2 separate regions of the Homo sapiens genome follow, and region 2 is linked to region 1. Evidence: promoter capture Hi-C in 16 types of primary human blood cells and fetal thymus (Javierre and others, 2016). All regions are on one chromosome and are shown on one strand. Each heading gives the region's core, a stretch centred on a gene start or on the middle of the fragment in contact. The rest is flanking DNA. Distances are from core to core; before and after follow the strand shown.

Region 1 (4,563 bases), core at 508-3,007:
TAGGAGAGGACCAATGGATGGCTTCATGCCACAGTCTGCTCCTCACATAGCATCATCCAGCTGGAAGTGTATTAAAAGAACTTTGGATAGGTATGACCAAACATCTTGTGTAGCAATTGGCCAAATGCCAACTGATCCTCAGACAAGGTATACTAAAATGTAAAGACAGCTGGGTATTAAAAACAAAACAAAACCAAGAAATGTGCTAAGGAAACAGAACACACAAAGGCCATCTCTCCTCAAGTTGTCCCTTTGCTAACCAAGGAAAAAAATAAATGATGTACAACTTTAAGTCTGAAGGTTAGTGTAAAGATAAGGCTATGTGAAAAACACAGTTGTTATTGCATTTTCAAAGGGGAAAGGGAATAACACCATGGCCATGGTATTACATATGACTTTTCTCTTTGGTTGAGTTCATACCATAAGGAACATCTCAGAAGTTCTGGAAATAAGAGGCTGAGAACTGAATTCCATTGAGAACTGAGCAAGATTTTATAAGCAACATAATCAAGCAACTCTTCAAAACCCTTCATGTAAGGTTTTAGAAATACTGGCTTTAAATAAAGATTTATCTTTTCCCAAAACTAAGCACCTGCTCTTACTGTTTTCTTGGCATATAATCATGAATTTGTACCTGATCCCTGTATATATGATATTCACAAACATAACTTTTCCATTGACAATAATCCCAGTATCTCATATTTTGTTCTTATTTGCTCTGACATTGTTAATCTAGCTCTCCCAAACCAAAGTCTTGTTATTTCTTTCTGTTTCCCTATTGTAGCCAGAGGACATTTTCATACCTCTCTAGATTTGTTTCTCTAGCTTGTTAGTTCTACTGCTTCCCTGAAATATCTTTCTCGTTTATTAATTTGGCATCTTGAGAGCCCACTCATTTCTAATCACTTTTTACCATGTTTTATTTTGCCTCTGTTTTTAATAATTCTCACCTTTCTCTCTTTCTGATGTCACGTACAAGCAAAATAGGTTTCAGAGGAAACAGTGCCATTAGTTAAGTGAAAGAAATGTGAACCTCTGTGTTTACTATAGGTTACATTTTATAAATGCAGAAACAATCATAATTATTAATCAAATACCGTAGTTTTACTTTTGGCCTAAAATTTATTTGGGGTAAATATCAGGATCAGTAAATAAATCCAAGATACTTTATTTTTTATAATTTTTCAAAAATAAAATGATCTTATATCAGAGTTCACCAACTTTAGTTACAATGTTTGCATCTCAGTTTCTACACAAATAGAAAATGATTGAATAAAGACTTTATTCAAATTGACAAATTAGCCAAGTTGTAAAGTATTCTATAACTAATTCTGAATTGTAAACCCTGTTCCAAATTAAGAAAAAGATGTCCTAAAATATATTAACATCGTTGTAAAACAATTTAGAAGACTGTAAATTAAAAATCCATTTCAAAATAATTTTAAGTTTTAAATTTCTACATTTTAACAATGTTAATATTTTTCTAATAATTGATTTGAAGTAATTGCAGAGAATACAAACTATTGACAAGCTTTCTCACCTAATAATTATGTAAGTAAGTCATTTAGTCTTCCACAGTTCCTTGATGGTCCTATCTGATTTCAAGTGACTAAAATAAATCTGTTATGTCTTACCTTATAAAGTTTGTCAAACAGGAATTAAAGACTAGTTGAGTAAATGCCAACAGCAAGGACTGTGGTTGGGGGTGAAGTTAGCTATTTGATATTGTTCTGTTCTGTGGGAAATAAAAGTGTCTTTGCTTTAGGATCTTTTGCAGTCTTTTGTTCATGTTTATTCGACTAAGTCAAAGCAAGAGTGGTCAGGCATTTGGCCAGGGTGCAAGATCTGGGTGGGATCAGTAAGCAATTTAAAGGAACAGTGTCCTTTCAGAATGAGACTGTGTTTTCCAGACTATTGTAAAAACAACTTGAGAGAACTTTCTACATTTTAGGCATTGGTTGACAGCCTGCCTTTTTTTCTCATGCTATGTCCTTCTCTTTTTATTGCTACATTTCTTTGCCTGGGGGATGTGCTCTAAGATACTGGTTCTGAACATCTCTGTGAAGGAGTATAAATGACACCAGACTCAGAATCAAAGCTGTTTTTTTAAGAGAGGTAACAGTTTGATTGTTATTAAAGCTGGATGATGAGTACATAGGTGTGCATTGTTCTAGTCTTTGTATTTCTGTGATTTTTGAAATTTTTTATAATAAAAGGTATATATAATATACAGGGAAAGAGTGGTCTGAGTATAGTCATAGTTCTGCCCCTAACTTTTATGGGGGCTTCAGTTCCCCACTTATGAAATGAGAGAGTAGATTTAATCATTTATTAAGATGTGTTCGAACTGTAACATGAGAGGTTTACAGCGGTTAATATTTTGGTCTCTCTCTAGGAAAGGATCACTGTGGTTTTTCCACTCCCTGTTTCCCTATTTTCTACCTTGTGGTTATGGTCCATATTAAGTCAATGTTTATCATGTAATATATACTGCCAAGAAGCCACCTGACCCCTAGACAGCTAACAGGCAGGCTTCTCCACGGACTTCCTCTGAAATAGAGAATAGCAAGATCATCCGAGAAAGCAATACAAATGTGCATGTTACGGTTATTTAAAATGAACTTTCTTAGCCATTTTAATGTGTATGAATTTCCTTATTACAGCAATAATAGCCTCCAATTCATGGACACTTACCAGGTGCTAGGCACTGTCCTGAGTGCTTCACACACATTACCTCATTTAATCCTTCACAAGCACAACCACCTATATACAGTAAGTCCTCACTTAATGTCCTCTGTAGGTTCTGGAAACTGTGACATAAAGTGAAACAATTGATAATGAAGACAATTTTCCCAAGAGCTAATTGATATAAATAAGAGTTAAGCTCTTATGGCATATTCCTAGTCACAAAAACATCACTAAACCTCTAAATACTCAAAACACCTCTAATAATAAACATTGAAATAAATCTAAGCTATATATACATTTATGAAAGATTGATAAAAACAAGATAACTGCTTACCTGCATATTCCAGTTCAGGGTCACGGTTGACCAGATCCTGTCCCAGCAGCTGAGGATACAAGGCAGGAACCAGCCCTGGACAGGATGCAGTACTGTCAAAGGGCACTCATACACCCACCCACTCTCTCAGACAGGCACCATGTAGACACACCAATGCATCTAATGGGCAAAGCTTTGGGATGTGGGAGGAAACTCCAGGACCTGGAGAAAACCCACACAGACATGGGGAAAACATGTCAACTCCACACAGTGAGCCTGGCCCAGGAATTGAATTTTTTTTCTCATCAATGTTATAACAAAATGACATTGAACAAAATATTATTCCAGGACCCCTTGTACTTAGTAGATGTTGTAAGAATTCGAATTTTTCCAAGATGGAGGCAGAGAGAGGTTCAGTAACTTGTCCGCTGTCATACTAAAACCAGAGAATGGCAAAATGAACTTTTAACTCAGGCTGGTAAGACCTGTGAGCCTCACTTATAACAACTACTGCATCATTAAGTATCTATGCGAACGTCTGTGTTTTCACTGTCTCCTCCTCACAAAACAGGTTTCGAGGAACTGAGGAAGTTTTGTGAGGCTTTGGTAACAGAAAGAAGAAACGGTGGGTATAATGCAGAAATAACAACGGAATTTCCTAGGGAACAACCATGTATTTACCTGATAGCCTATGGGTGTTAGTCACACTTTTTACTTTTGTAAGATGAGAATCAAGAGACAAGGAAGTAGCATCTTTTCAGGTCAACTCTCTTTTTGCTGAGGCAGGTTAAAAACATGCAGAATAATAATGCCACTAAGAAGCAAACAGGTGATTCCTAGATGGGGGAAATGGACTAAAGCCCTCCTGCCTTGGAGCTGTTTTGATTAAAGTTGGTGGGAGGTTGGAGTCCAACTTAGTCATCCATTCCCTTTCATTCTCCAACATTAAATAGGGTAACTCAAACCAAAGATTTGCCACCTCTCATTCTCAAGCGTGAAAATCAGCACTAAATTAATTGGGAAGATTATGCAAAATAAAATCTTCAGTTTCATCAATCTATAAAAGACAATTAGTTTTGCACCCAGAGAAACAATGCACCACAATCTTAATCCCAACAGATGGTCTTGAATTAGTATGCTATTGGACTTACACCAGAACAAATAAGAGAGCATGGATAACCATAATGACTAGAAAAAGGCAACGTGGAGCCCATGCCCTTCTGACAGTTATTTTGTAGTAAAAGTCTTTATGGAAGAAATATAGCACACTATTTTCATTGTTACTACTATAAATAGCCCAGAGTAAGCAGTCATATTTGTGAAATAAATGATTATTAGAAGTAATTTTTAGTGTTTATCAGTCACTTGAGGTCTGTGATACAATAAATTGCTCTTCTCCAAAGCTCTGCTAGATGAAAATCTTTTTTCAACTTTTTCAAATTCTTTTAATATGCTACCATAGTAGCATCTGCATTGTGTTTATTGATTCTAGTACCAGTGCCAACATCTTAATTTCAGTGGTGATGATATTTTGGGGTCCTAGAATCATTTAAAAAGAGACA
Region 2 (4,368 bases), core at 1,648-4,147, 230 kb before region 1:
TCTGGTTTTTTGGAATTGTCAGTCTTTTTATGCTGGTTTTTCCTCATCTTCATGGATTTATCTACCTTTGGTTTTTGATGCTGGTGACTTTCAGATGGGGTTTCTGTGTGGATGTCCTTTTTGTTGATGTTGATGCTATTCCTTTGTTAGTTAGTTTTCCTTCTAACAGGCCCCTCTGCTGCAGGTCTGCTGGAGTTTGCTGGAGGTCCACTCCCGACCCTGTTTGCCTGGGTATCACCAACAGAGGCTGTAGAATAGCAAAGATTGCTGCCTATTCCTTCCTCTGGAAGCCTCGTCCCAGAGGGGCACCTGCCAGATGCCAGCCAGAGCTCTCCTGTATGATGTGTCCGTCGACCCCTGCAGGGAGGTGTCTCCCAGCCAGAAGGCATGGGGGTTAGGGACCCACTTGAGGAGGCTGTCTGTCCCTTAGCAGTGCTCAAGCGCTGTGTTGGGAGGTCCACGGCTCTCTTCAGAGCTGACAGCCAGGAACACTTGAGTCTGCTGAAGCTGCGTCCACAGCCACCCCTTCCCCCAGGTGCTCTGTCCCAGTGAGATGGGAGTTTTATCTATAAGCCCCTGACTGGGGCTGCTGCCTTTCTTTCAGAGATGCCCTGCCAAGAGAGGAGGAATCTAGAGACTCAGTCTGGCTACAGCAGCTTTGCCAAGCTGCAGTGGGCTCTGCCCACTTTGAACTTCCTGGTGGCTTTGTTTACTGAGGGGAAAACCGCCTACTCCAGCCTCAGTAATGGTGGATGCCCCTCCCCACACCAAGCTCAAGCATCCCAGGTTGACTTCAGACTTCTGTGCTGGCAGCGATAATTTCAGGCCAGTGGATCTTAGCTTGCTGGGCTCTGTGGGGGTGGGATCCACTGAGCAAGACCACTTGGCTCCCTGGCTACAGCCCCCTTTCGATGAGAGTGTACACTTCTGTCTCACTGGCATTCCAGATGCCACTGGGGTATGAAAAAAAACTCCTTCGGCTAGCTTGGTGTCTGCCCAAATGGCCACACAGTTTTGTGCTTGAAACCCAGGGCCCTGGTGGCATAGGCACCCAAGGGAATCTCCTGGTCTGCGGGTTGTGAAGACCGTGGGAAAAGTGTAGTATCTGGGCCAGAGTGCACTGTTCCTCATGGCATAGTCCCTCACAGCTTCCCTTAGCTAGGGGAAGGAGTTCCTCGACCCCTTCTACTTCCCAGGTGAGGCAACACCCCACCCTGCTGCTTACCATCTGTGGGCTGCACCCACTGTCTAACCAGTCCCAATGAGATGAATCAGGTACCTCAGTTGTAAATGCACAAATTACCCACCTTCTGCATTGATCTCACTGGGAGCTGCAGACCAGAACTGTTCCTATTCGGCCATCTTGCCCACGTCCAGTCCCTTTACTTTAAGTTTATGAGCGTCCTTATGTGTTAGGTGAGTCTTTTGGAGGCAGCAGATGGTTGGTGAATTCTTATCCATTTTGCCATTCTGTATCTTTTAAGTGGAGCATTTAGGGCATTTACATTCAATGTTAGTATTGAGATGTGAGGTACCATTCTATTCACCATGGTGTTTGTTGCCTGTATAACTTGGTTTTTTAAAAATTGTATTCTTGTTTTATAGGTCCTGTGAAATTTGTGCTTTAAAGAGGTTCTGTTTTGATGTGTTTCCAGAATTTATTTCAAGATTTAGAGCTCCTTTTGGCAGTTCTTATAGTGCTGGATTGGTACTGGCCAATTCTCTCAGCATTTGTTTGACTGTATCTTTCCTTCATTTACAAAGCTTAGTTTCACTGAATACAAAATTCTTTGCTGATAATTGTTTTGTTTAAAGAGGCTGAAGATAAGGCCCCAATCCCTTTTTGTAGGGTTTCCGCTGAGAACTCTGCTGTTAATCTGATCGATTTTCCTTTATAAGTTACCTGGTGATTTTGCCTCATAGCTGTTAAGATTCTTTCCTTCGTCTCAACGTTAAGTAACCTGATGACATTGTGCCTAGGTGATTACTTTTTTGTGATGAATTTCCCAGGTGTTCTTTGAGCTTCTTATATTTGGATAACTAGGTCTCTAGCAAGGCCTGGGAAGTTTTTCTTGATTATTCCCCCAAATATGTTTTCCAAATTTTAGATTTCTCTTCTTCCTCAAGAATGCTGATTATTCTTAGGTTTGGTCATTTAACATAATCCCAGACTTCTTGGAGGCTTTGTTCATATTTTCTAATTTTTTTTTCTTTGTTGGATTGGGTTAATTTAGAGACCTTGTCTTCAAGCTCTGAAGTTCTTTATTCTGCTTGTTTGATTCTAGTGCTAAGACCTTCCAGGGCATTTTGCATTTCTATAAGTCCATCCATTGTTTCCTGAGGTTTTGATTGTTTTTTATTTATGCTATCTATTTAATTGAAAATTTCTCTCCTCATGTCTTGTATCATTTTTTTGACTTCCTTAAATTGGGCTTTGCCTTTCCCTGGTGCCTCCCTGATTAGTTCAATAACTAACCTCCTTTTTCAGGTAAATCAGGAATTTCTTCTTGGTTTGAATCCATTGCCAGTGAGCTAGTGTGACTTTTTGGGGGTGTTAAAGATGCTTGTTTTGTCACATTACCAGAATTCGTTTTCTGGTTCTTTCTCATTTGGGTAGCCTCTGTCAGAGGGAAGATCTGGGGCTCAAGGCTGTTGTTCAGATTTTTTTGTCCCATGGGGTGTTCCCATGATGTAGTACTCTCCTCCTTTTCTTAAGGATGTGGCTTCCTGAGAGCTGAGCTGTACTGATTGTTATGTCTCTTCTGGACCTAGCCACCCAGCAAGTTCACCAGGCTCTGGGCTGGTACTGAAGTTTGTCTGCACAGAATCCTGTGATGTGAATCGTCTGTGGGTCTCTCAGCCGTGGATACCAGCACCTTCTCTGGTGGAAGTGGCAAGGGAGTGAAATGGACTCTGTGAGGGTCCTTAACTTTGGTTGCTTAATGCACCATTTTTGTTCTGGTTGGCCTCCTGCTGGGAGGTAGTGCTTTCAAGACAGCATCAGCCATGATAGTATGGGGAGGAACAGGTGGTGGGTGCCGTCCTAGAACTCCCAAGAGTATATGCCCTTTGTCTTCAGCTACCAGGGTGTGTAGGGAAGGACCATTAGGTGGGCGCAGGGCTAGGCGTGGCTGCCTCTACTGTGTCATGCAGGTTGTCAGGAAAGTGGGGGAAAGCTGGCAGTCACAGGCCTCACCTAGCTCCCACTCAACCCAAAGGGCTAGTCTCACTCCCACCATGTGCCTGCCCCCCACCCCCAATAGCAACAAGTCTGTTTCCAAGCAATGGGCAAGCAGGGCTGAGAACTTGCCCCAGGATACCTGCCTCCCAGCTGCAAAAGCAAGTAGGGCTTTTGTGCTTCCCCTACCTGTGAATTCTGCACACCGGATTCATACCCTCCCCCAGGTTCTGGCCAGAAGACTTCTCAATGGCTTCAAATTGTTACAAAGTTCAGCTGGAGGTTTCCTTCTTCCTGTTCCCTTTTCCCAGTGCCTCTGGCAGCCTGCCTCAAGGACCCCTGTGAGGCAAGGCAGAAACGACTTGCTAGGGCACCAAGCGAGCCCACAGGGCTTTTCCCGCTGCTTCTTCTACGCCTGTATTTTGCTCAGCTCTCTAAATTGACTCAGCTCCGGGTAAGGTCAGAATCTTCTCCCGTGACCTAGACTTTCAGGTTTCCCAGTGAGGGTGTGTGTTCGGAGCAGATGATTCCCCTTTCCTACTTTCACAGTTTGGGCACTCACAGTATTTGGGGTGTCTCCCGGGTCCTGCAGGAGCAATTCGCTTCCTTCAGAGGGTCTGTGGGTTCTCTCAGCTTTCCCGATTTATTCCTGCAGTCATTCTGGAGCAGAAGTTCAACAACGCGAGCCTCCACATGCTGCTCTGTCCGTCCGAGTGGTAGCTGCAATTCCTACTTCCACATTCTCACTTGTCAGATCAAAACTTTTCTTGGGGATCCACAGTTAAGCAGAGCAACAGAACTGGAAACCACTTCTCTGATTTCCAAACTGTATTTCTCCTCTTTCTTGGTATTCAAGCTTAAAATAAAATTAATTTTTCAGTCATTCATTCACAGTTGAGCACTTTATAAGAAAGTTCTTAGTAAGCATCTATTGTATTATCCCTAGAAGGACAAATTATTTTATGCTTACACAAAACTTTTTTTTAGAGATGGCAGAATGGGGGGAACAGGTGATGGTAGAGTATAATCCCAGAATAAATCCCCATGCCCCCTTTTTTCTGGGACTCTGATCATTGGATTTCCACTAGTAGCGGAAAATTATTAAATGATCTGTTCTATGCCAGCTTGGGGAGAGACAGACTCTGGGGAATCCTAGTCTAAAAAGTGAAAAGGGCAGTTCTTGACTAAGT

The links. The method cuts DNA at HindIII sites, captures the fragments that hold promoters and counts their contacts. A CHiCAGO score of 5 or more calls a contact.
Region 2: a fragment that was not itself captured here is called in contact with the fragment with the promoter of COL28A1 in region 1 in 1 of 17 cell types (total B cells); the score reaches 5.0 in total B cells.

Annotation. Positions count from the first base shown.
Region 1 is chr7:7,534,116-7,538,678 of GRCh38, forward strand. COL28A1 (collagen type XXVIII alpha 1 chain) reads right to left here and starts at 1,758. Exons shown (of 35, transcript NM_001037763.3): 1 at 1,635-1,758. The HindIII fragment of the contact is 1,663 bases long and covers 1,530-3,192 here.
Region 2 is chr7:7,300,393-7,304,760 of GRCh38, forward strand. The region is part of intron 1 of LOC107986764 (a long non-coding RNA gene); the gene reads left to right. Among named protein-coding and RNA genes, the nearest start is that of LINC03016, 47 kb to the left of the region's middle. The HindIII fragment of the contact is 2,270 bases long and covers 1,763-4,032 here.